Regions from separate parts of the Homo sapiens genome. Here regions 2 and 3 are each linked to region 1. Evidence: promoter capture Hi-C in 16 types of primary human blood cells and fetal thymus (Javierre and others, 2016). All regions are on one chromosome and are shown on one strand. Each heading gives the region's core, a stretch centred on a gene start or on the middle of the fragment in contact. The rest is flanking DNA. Distances are from core to core; before and after follow the strand shown. Region 1 holds the start of ELL2 (elongation factor for RNA polymerase II 2). Region 2 overlaps LOC101929710 (a long non-coding RNA gene). Region 3 overlaps LOC101929710 (a long non-coding RNA gene).

Region 1 (3,397 bases), core at 605-3,104:
CAAGTACAGAATTATTTTTAGATTATAGTCCGCTTAGAGATGAACTATTTGAATAAGGTTTCTACTTTTGGAAAGCGGAGAAAACTAGGTAGTAAAGCCTCTATTTCCCTTCTAAGAGTAAACTTTTTAATCCAATTTGATGATTACCTTAATATCTCTACTACATGAATTTAAGATAACACTGTATCACTAAAGTAAATGAAATTAGCAAGCGTTAATCACGTCTTAACAGCTAGCCAATCTTAGTGGATTGAAATTAAGTCAATTTACAAACTGTTTTCCTGTGATGGAGTAACACTTAATACAGGTGTTTCCACTTAATCCAATTCATTCTGTAATTCACATTATACACCTACTATGTTTGAAGGTCTGAATCAAAAAGGAGTGTACCCGTACGGTGGGGAAGGCATTTATTGGGAGGGGAGGACATGGAATCATGGCCCTAATCCATTTAAAATAATGAAAAATACTGATTAAATATCTATAAACTTTCCCGGGGAATCCCAGTAGAACAGAACATGGTTTTATAAGCTGAGGGTAAAAACAAGCGTCTCAGTTTTTTTATTAAAAGAACTTTTTTAAACTGCCTTTCAACAGTTTGAAAGCTTTCAATGGTTTGTTTTATCTGGTGTTTCTGATCAACCAATTAATCCATCCTCTGACAGGAACCCATCTGTCAGTCTATCCACACACAATCTGAAAGGGACTCCAGATTAGGCTCCCTCTTTTAGCCACGCCTACACAGGAAGCATCCTGTGGATGGAATGGAAAGTATGCCAGGCCTTTGCACGCCCCTCACGCCCCCATCTCCTTCGCTTAACCTCGACAGCCTCTTACCTTTAAACCCTAGCTAGGTTTTCACACAGCCCTATCAAATAAAAAGGACAATACTCAAACTGAATTAGAGAATGAGAATTGTCGAGGTTTCTTTTAATTTAGATCAATGCCAGTTTTACTCTTCTTCTAGAGTCCTTTTTAAGGAGATATCATCCCCACCAGTTGTGATCCCAGAGAATCACAACAGGGCATGGCGTAGGAAAGACCTCGAAGCTCAATTCTCTATTATACCATGCCCACCATACGAAAGGCATTTAACCTCCCGCGTGATTTTGTCCTTAAGATGCTCCACAAGATCTAACACAACTCCTACATCTAAGAGTCGACTCACTAATTTCAAGGGTTTTTGTTTTTGTTTTTGTTTTTATAAGCTCTGCGTGTGGCACCCGATAACTTCAAGTTTAGAGTGAGCAGTTTCCTCCCAATGCCGTTTGCTCAACTACAGTACTAGGAGTTTTGAGGAGCAGCTCTCTAGCGAGTCCTCCTGCTGCGTCCTCCCCCACACGCACGCACCAAGTTCCACAGCTTCCGCAGCCGTCGGGGAACAAAGTCCTTATTTGGTCACGGCCATCCCCTTACATAGTGGAGGTGGAGATCCTCCTCTCCAAGGACCACCCGCGTAGGGCGAGATTCCCCAATTCTGACTTTTCACTACTATCCCCCACAGGGGCGGGGCTCCAACTCCAGGTAACCAGACCAGGCAACCTGGACTTCCAATTAGCAGGGGAGTCCCCAAGCCAGCCTGGCCAATCTCGGCCGGCTAGCCAAGACGACCAGACGTGACGTCAGACATGATTAAGTTGGCGCGTCACCTAGACGTCAGCCTCTTACCTCTCGGACGTCCCGTCCCAGGAGCAAAACTCTAGTGACTTTGGGCCCGCCCCCGTGAGAGTGGAGGGCGGCCGATGAGGGCGGTTCTGAAGGGAACAAGACCAATGAGACGAGCCCGGGGCGGGGCGCGGGGCCGGAGGGTGGGGCGGGTGGCGGCGGTGGCAGTCCGAGGTCTGGCTCCGCGCAGTATATGACAGTACGTCAGCAGCGGGATGGCCCTAGCAGTGGCGGCGGCTGCAGAAGCCCAAGCAGCCGCGGCCGCAGTGGAGGCTAGAGCCGGAGCGGCGGCGGCGGCGGCACCCCGGGGAGTTTAAGATGGCGGCGGGGGGGACAGGGGGCCTGCGGGAGGAGCAGCGCTATGGGCTGTCGTGCGGACGGCTGGGGCAGGACAACATCACCGTACTGCATGTGAAGCTCACCGAGACGGCGATCCGGGCGCTCGAGACTTACCAGAGCCACAAGGTGAGCGGGCCGGCCGGCAGGCTGGGCTCAGAGAGGCAGAGCGCACCCCTCACGGCCTGGCCGCGCCCGGGTGCGGGGCCGGCGGAGCCGTGGCTGGCAGCTGCTACCGTCAGCGCCCGCAGCGGCCAGGCAGGGCAGGGCCGGGCAGGGTGGCTGACGCCGCGGTCCCGGGCTAGCCTGGGCGTTGGGGAAGCGGGCAGTCGGGCGGCCCCTGGCGGCGGGGCCGAGGCAGCCGCAGCCCTGGGTCGGCTGCGCTGCCGCTGCGGGACTTTCCGACGGCCCCCGAGGATTTCCTGGCTTGTTGGGTCCCAAGGAGGGAGAGAGGCCCCGATAAGAGAAGTGAGATGACCACGCTACCCTCGGCGGGGAAGGAGGGTAGCGAGCAGCGTATGGGCAAGGAACCAGGGACGACTCGCGGGCACCAGCTGCCCGCGTTTTCCAGTTACATAGGCACGGTGGATCCTCAGAGACAGGACACAGGCGCTCCGCGTGTGGGGGTGGGACCTTGTATTCCCAGGGACTTGGGGACACAGGCGCTCCACGTATCAGGGGACACACTGTGTGCTCGAAGGGATGGGGACTCGGGCGCATGGTGAGGGGCACACGGTGTACTCATAGAGATAGGGACTTAGGCAGTCCGTGTAAGGGGGCGGCGCACACTGGAACGGCGGGGACACTGGCGCTTCGCGTACGGGGGGGGAGGGGACACACCTGCATTCCCAGGGACTCCGGGACACCGGCGCATCGCGTTACTGGAGACGCGCCGCGTCCAGGACGGACACAAACCAACACAGTGCCCTGGGGAGAGACCTGAGGACTCACGCACACTTAGCGCTCCCCGGGAGCAAGACATCGGGTTCTGGAGAGAGAGGTTCACGGACGCTCAACGTACCCGAAAAAGCTCCCGGCGTCTTGGGCTGACTCTGGGAAGTGTAAACGGGGAACGAGCCAGAGCCAGAAGGTGTGGGGAGGATACAATGCATCCCGGGCAGAGACTCGGGCCTCTCACCCCTCGTTTTCGAGAGAAGCCCATGGACACACACACACACATATACACACACACCCCTCCAGTACAGAGAGAGGCTCAGATAGGCGCACATACACTGTAATTGGACTACAAATCCAGACGCTTTCATGTTGGAAAAAAAATGGGAGAGACAGGGAAGCACCGAGAAGGGACGCGGTAACCAGGGTGCATGGGGAAACAGTTTATGGACATGCAGTACTGTGGGAGACCGGAGTGGATACATCGCGTGAGGGAGGGATA
Region 2 (3,397 bases), core at 600-3,099, 640 kb before region 1:
AAAGCAGTCAGACAGGAGGAGTCCTCTCGTACTAGAGGGAGGGTCAGTGTTTTTGTTCTATTCAGGCCTTCATGTGATTGGGCCATCCACACTGGGGAGGGAATGTGCTTTACTCCGTCTACTGATTCAAATGTTAATCTCACCCAGAAACACCCTCACAAACACACCCAGAATAATGTGTGACCAAATACCTGGGCACCCCATGGCCCAGTCAAGTTGACATATAAAATTAACTATCTCAGTGATTATTTTCCATTTTTCTCATAGAAAAACGGAGGTAGGACAATGTTTATTGATTTGTCCTGTGGGATCCAGCCCATGTCACCCAACTCAGAGGCCACAGAGAGAAATAAGAGAAGTAGAGCCAGGCCATTGCAAATCTTCCCAAAGACATAAAAGCTGCAGCCCTAGAGACAGGGCAGCTGAGAGGGGAGCCAGTTTTCCCCAGTGCTTGGATGGGTGGGATATGACAGGACTTCTTGGCTCTGGTCATATCTGAGGCTGACCCAGGGAACTAGCTGGCCTTTGGGCAGACTTGGGGGTCCTGTTCTAATTTGGCTGGAGAGAAGTCCATGAAAGGCAAAAAAAAGTTATTTTCATGCACTGGGCACCAAAGGAAATTGATGGCAAAGACAGAACATGTTTTCCTGTAGGCTGAGTGTAAGCCCTCATTAGGCAGAGGAGCCAGAGCTTATTTATAGAGAAGCACTACCATTTTGTTATGTATGGGCAGCAAGTCCAGCGAATTCTCATCAAGCAGGTTGTACAAGCTCTGATTACAATGAATTTTCATGGAATTAGTCTCTGAGCACAGGACCTTCGGGAGTGTGTAGAGTCATCTTGACCCTGTGGGGAGGTAGAGATAGAGCCTTGCAGACTTCACTACTGCCAGCCCCCTAGTACTGCTGGCCTCTCCCCCTCCCCCCTTCTTTTTCCATTTTTCTCTCCCCCTTTCTTTTCTTCTTCCACCCCTCCAGATCCTCACTGGGGTGACTCAATGCTGTTGTCAAGCCACAAAACCACCCTGACCCCCACTTTACACATCTAGAGGGATGATATTTACTTAGCAGGGTTATAATGAGGCCTGAATAAATAGCATATATGAATGTCCTTGCATAGAGGAGACACGATAATTATTTGGTAGGAAAGAAAGAAGGTGAAAAGAAGGCAGTTGCTTAAGTGCTACTCAGTATATGGAAAAATAAATCACTCAATGGAAAGTTCATCACGGGTAGGATGAGAGGAGGGTGAGTCAGAGCAAACTAACGGAGGAGTGTGATGTTGGAAGGTGCAGGTTGCCTCTGCTGCTGCTGACGTTATTTGAAAGAGATATAAGACTAAATCTCTAGTTAGTGGTAATTAGAGGAGCTCCCTAGGCACTTCATGTAGCTGGGATGGTAGCCTTCTTGTCCTGCCTGAAATCAATTCCAGTTTGTATAATTACGTCCAGACAGCAGGGTCCCAGCTGCAAGGTTTTACACAAAATATTTTCTCCATTGTACTTTCTATAATTAGTATTTCACGTAGGTGAGTGGGGGAAAAGGCCACAGTATCCCACCTGGTATCCTTTTCTTTTTTAGGGCAGATGGATAAATTCCTTGACATATTCTGACATTAGGAAAGTCTTGAGAATGCATGAAAATTAAAAGATGTTTTGCAAGTATTTTTCATTTTGCTTTCTGATATGCTCTTCATAACAATGAAATATATGAGGTCGTGGATCCTAAAAGTACAGGATGATGCCATCTTGATCACTGTCACCTGTTATGGACTAAACTGTGTCCCCCACAAAATTCACATGTTAAAGCCCTAATGCCCAATATGACTGTATTAGGAGATAGAGCCTTTAACGAGGTAATAAGGTTAAATGAGGTCATAGAGGTTGGACCCTAATCTGATAGAACCGGTGTCCATATAAAAAGAGGAAGAGACAACAGAGATCTCTCTCTCCTCACATGCTCAGAGAAAAGGCCATGTGAGCACACAGTGAGAAAATCACCAAACACAAGTCAGAGAGCCCTCATTAGAAACTAACCCTGCTGGCACCTTCGTCTCAGACTTCCAGCCTCCAGACTGTGAGAAAAAACCTGTTGGCAGCTGAGGATTCTCAACATGGTGCTGTAGGTTGAATTCAGTGGAGCCTCCACTCTCCAGGGCTTATCTCGAGGTGGGCTGCTGTGTTCCATCATGAACACAGAAGAAAGCATCTCACAGCAAGTTCCCTCATATGCTTGGCTACATTTGTTTTTCATGAGCATGGCTGTAGTGACCACAAAGAGCTCTATAGCTTAGTCCATGTTTCCTATTGCTGGTTTTAGTTTCCTATTTTTGCTGAAACAATTTACAACACACTTAGTGGCTCAAACAACACAAATTTATTCTCTTACCATTTTGGAGGCAAAAGCAAAAAATCAGTTTGATTGAGCAAATATCAAGAGGTTGGTGGGGTCGTTCCTTCTGGAGGTTCTGAGGGGAGAATCTGTCTCCTTGCTTTTTTCAGCTTTTAGTGGCTGACTGTATTCCTTGGCTTGTAGTTACTTCCTCCTTCTCCAAAACACATTGCTCCAGCCTCTGGTTTCATCTTCAGGAGTCAGTCTTCTCCTCTGGCTCTGACTCCTCTTGTGTCCCTCTTGTAAGGACAACTGTGACTGTATTGGGCCTACCTGGCTAATCCAGGACAATCTACCCATCTCAATCCCTTGATCTCATCTGCAAAGTTCCTTTTGCCATATTAGGCAATATTCACAGGTTCTGGGGGATGAGATTAGGACATGGACATCTTTGGAAGAGGCATGATTCAGCCTACCATACTATTCCTACACCTCACACTCCTAAGCACAAACCCCTTATAGAGACCACCCCATTTGCAGCTCTCTGCAGGCTCAGTATATCCCTCCTGAGTGGATTGAATATTTTTTCCTTGAACATCCAGGTCTTATGCCACGCCACCTCCTCCAGGAAGCCTTCTCTCCCTTCTCCAACTCACTTTGACTTCTCATAGTACTTAAATAAGAACTCCATTATTTGGGTCTAATATGTTATGTTGAATTTTAACTCTATTTTGTTTCATATATATTTGTCTTTTTTCTCTAACCAAGCTATATGTTTTTTATCTAAGTTCTGCATATTTTCTCTATGTTCTTCTTCCTCGTTCCCCTGAAATACTTTCTTTGGCCTCTAGGTGGCCTTCTCCTTTATTCTCCCTATCCATTTCAGGTTCTGTGTCATCCAACTGAGTGCCTTGCCTGAGCCCATCACTGTCTCTGCTTCTTTGCTCCCCATCCCACCCTTGGCATTGGTTATGAGTCAGGCTTCTGCTCTGGTCCTTTCGAGGTCTTGTTCTGGGAAGATTCCCTGACCCCACTTCCCTCCATGACTGGGGTCCTGTCTTCCCCTT
Region 3 (3,397 bases), core at 444-2,943, 580 kb before region 1:
TAGCCAAAGCTGGAACAATTTGAGCAAAAAATAAAGTAGTATTGGATTATAATCTAAAATATAAAATAGATATTCATGAGACCATAATGATACACATAAACGATTTCATAAATTAATTAATGAGAGAGGACACAAGTTTCTCATACAAAAGAATTTCAAGTAAGTTATGTAGATATTCCACTCTACAGGGAAGGAAACGTAACTCTACACTCCTTAGGATGTTCTGTGCATTGCGACTTCTTGCCAAAGAGCACATGGGAAAGGGGGAAAAAGGGTAACCTCATAGTGGACAAACCTGACAAAAACTACTTCAGCCAGGAGATCAAGGTCAACATCATCAGTGATCAATCTTGTTGATAGTATGTACAATGAAAAGGGCACTTTACTTCTGTAATTTTTCTCCCCCAAACCCATACCTCTATACTATGCATGAGAAAAATATCAGGCAGTTTCCAATAGAGGAGCATCCTACATCATAGCTGACCAATACTCCTCATAACTGTCAAGGTCATCAGAAACAACAAAAGTCTGAGAAACTACCGGAGCTTAGAGGAACTTGTGGAAACCTGAGAACCACAAGTTATGTAGTATCAAGGATGAGATCCGGAAACAGAAGAAGAACATTAAGTAAAAACTAAAGCAATCTAAATAAACTATGAATTTTAATTAATAATAGTGTATCAACATTGGTTTGCTCATTTTAAGAAATGTACTATCCTAAAGTAAGATGTTAATAATAGAGAAACTGTATATGTGGGGATATATGAGAGCTTTCTGTACTATTTGCTTATTTTTTCTATAAATCTAAAACTGCTCTAAAAATAAAGTCATTAATAAAAAGTTACTGCAAGAATAAAAATAAAGGTAAAATAAATACTGTTTCAGACATACAAAATCTGAAAGGATCCATAAACATCAGAAATGTGCGATAAGGAAAAAAAATGTTTTAAAGAGTCCTTTAGGCAGAAGGAGAATGATAACAGATGGAGATAGGGGTTATAAAAATAAATGAAAAGCAATACGACCAGTAACTACATGGGCTGACTTTTTTCCTTATGATTTAAATATTTAAAAAATATAATTAACTGTTTAAAAGAAAAAAATAGAAACAACACATTGTGGAGCTAATATGTATAAACAGATTTATAGCCCACAATAGCATAAGGCTAGGAGGGGAGAAATGGGAATATATTGTTATAAGATTCTTATACTACACATATTTGAAGCTATACTATGGTAAGATAAAGAGGTATACTATAAATACTAAAACAGCCATTAAACAAAGCTATGTCCAATAAGCCACCAAAGAAGAAAAAATAAAATCATGTAAATAATTAATTTATGATAAGGCAGAAAAAAATAAACTAAGGACAGATTGCCCAAATAGAAAACAAGGTGGTAGACTTAAACCCAACCATCTCAGTAGTCACATTAAATGTAAACGGTGTAAATACACCAATTGAAGCCAGCAATTGCAGGATTAGGTTTAAAAAGGAAGATCAAACTATGTGCTGTCCATGAGAAATCGATTCTTTTAGATTCACTTTTTATTTATTTATTATTGATACAAGGAAACTCACTTTTAATATAAGTGGTTCAGGGCAGGAGACAGGGATGAAGAGGTGAAACGCAGGGAATTTTTAGGGCAGTGAAACTGTTCTGTGTGATACTATTATGATGGATACATGACATGACATGTTTGTCAAAACCTATAGAACTTTACAAGACAGAGCAAAAATAAAAGGATGAAAAGCGATGGTTAAAAGTAAAAGGATGGAAAAGTGATGACATAGAAACATGAGTTGAAAGGAAGTTTGAATGGCTATATTAATATCAAAGTAAATTTCACAAAAAACAAAATTATTTAGAATAAAAACTGTCACTTCACAAAATAATAAAATGTCAATTAACTAAGAAGACATGCAATTCTAAATATTTATGCACTTAATAACAGAATAAAAGCTGCCACTTCAAACAATTGGCATGATATAAAGTTTGCATTACCCATTAGAATAGGCTCTAAGTGTGTTGTTTCAAGACTTTGACTCTTAAGTTTTTCGGTTTTTCTCAACAACTCACTATATCCCTGAACTTTGAACACTATGAGTCAGTTCTGCTGAATCTTAAAAAATGGTGATATTTTGACATTTGCTGTGATTGTCTTCATACATACTTTTATGAGAAAATACAAATAAGAGAGAATAGTCTGGATTTGTTTTAACTGCAAATGTTAGTCATTGATTTAGCAAGATCTTTATAATGAAAGTTCTGTGGTCTATTTCCTATACAATTCAGAGTGATATGCTGCTACCATATTGACCAAATATGAAGTGCTTCCTCTTTGGGTGACCTGATAGCAGCAGAATACCTCTCTGAGTCATTTGATATTGATTTTTGATCTTCACTTCCTGAGATTTTTTTTAAACCCCAAACTGCAAATTAGAGTAACTTGATATTTCTATGTCTTATGATGTGATACAGAGACAGTATCCCAAAGCTCATTTCATTTCTGAGGGAGCGGTGTGTGTGTGGGGGGGTCTTATGTATGAGTGAAGAGACAGTGTTTCAATGTTACATTTTCTGTTTTTTTTTTAATTTAAAAAAACAGATGTTGCAAAACAAGATTGAGGTTAGTCCAGGACCATTTTTAACTACTTGAACATCTCCAAATCTGCACATTAATTCTGACTATATTATCAATTCAGAAATTCAAGAGATGTTCCAAAGTTTAATAACATCTTCAAATGCTTTTAGGTAATTGGTCATTTACTTTGCTAGCCTAGTGTTTGTTGTTTTTAATCTGCATGCTTTTCAGTGATGTCCAAAGCAAGTTGATTTCCAAAAGGCTTTCCAAACCTTATCTTTTCTAACAGATAAATATGAGAAAAGCAAAATTCTTTTACTTTCAGATAGGTATGATATAAGGATCATATCCACATATTGCTACGTAGTTTCATACCTCTATCAATTACTATTCACTCACCTCCTTTCCTAGATGCTTCAAATTAACTGGTAATTGTATCCCTTTAAAGAGCCCATCCCTAGAACTTGACACTGCTCTTGATAACCTATGTGGAGGTTTGAAAGGAAGCTACTCGCGGGAAGGCTTGAAGGACACCAGGTGACCTGGTTTGTCTAACAAACAGTTTTTCTTTTGCTGGCTGTTTAACCAGTCTTTGCCTTGTGTGTAGATTGCATGCTCTGACTGGGGTTTTCAGAGGGGTGGGAGAGAAAACAGATAGAGCCTGCCTACTAGAGAGGTGGAGAAGAATGAGGCCAAGTGAAAGAGAGGGCTGAAAGCATGAAAGCTACTGCAGGGAGATATTTTAGGGGAGGAGTTGACAGGATCAATATGGATATAAAGGATGCTTTTGCTACATGATATACAATATAATTT

The links. The method cuts DNA at HindIII sites, captures the fragments that hold promoters and counts their contacts. A CHiCAGO score of 5 or more calls a contact.
Region 2: a fragment that was not itself captured here is called in contact with the fragment with the promoter of ELL2 in region 1 in 8 of 17 cell types (M2 macrophages, M1 macrophages, M0 macrophages and 5 more); the score reaches 8.9 in M2 macrophages.
Region 3: a fragment that was not itself captured here is called in contact with the fragment with the promoter of ELL2 in region 1 in 3 of 17 cell types (naive CD8 T cells, total CD4 T cells and naive CD4 T cells); the score reaches 6.6 in naive CD8 T cells.

Annotation. Positions count from the first base shown.
Region 1 is chr5:95,960,308-95,963,704 of GRCh38, reverse strand. It overlaps ELL2 (elongation factor for RNA polymerase II 2), which reads left to right and starts at 1,854. Exons shown (of 12, transcript NM_012081.6): 1 at 1,854-2,130. The coding sequence starts at 1,984. It overlaps LOC101929710 (a long non-coding RNA gene), which reads right to left and starts at 1,704. Exons shown (of 5, transcript NR_130776.1): 1 at 1,669-1,704. It also overlaps a transcript of CAST not described here. RefSeq lists silencers at 1,298-1,765, 1,721-1,960, 2,031-2,440 and an enhancer at 1,245-2,002. The HindIII fragment of the contact is 3,633 bases long and covers 608-3,397 here.
Region 2 is chr5:96,595,468-96,598,864 of GRCh38, reverse strand. All of the region lies in intron 4 of LOC101929710 (a long non-coding RNA gene), which reads right to left. It also overlaps a transcript of CAST not described here. Among named protein-coding and RNA genes, the nearest start is that of CAST, 65 kb to the left of the region's middle. The HindIII fragment of the contact is 7,507 bases long and covers 1-3,397 here.
Region 3 is chr5:96,537,873-96,541,269 of GRCh38, reverse strand. The region is part of intron 4 of LOC101929710 (a long non-coding RNA gene); the gene reads right to left. It also overlaps a transcript of CAST not described here. Among named protein-coding and RNA genes, the nearest start is that of PCSK1, 110 kb to the right of the region's middle. The HindIII fragment of the contact is 4,378 bases long and covers 1-3,397 here.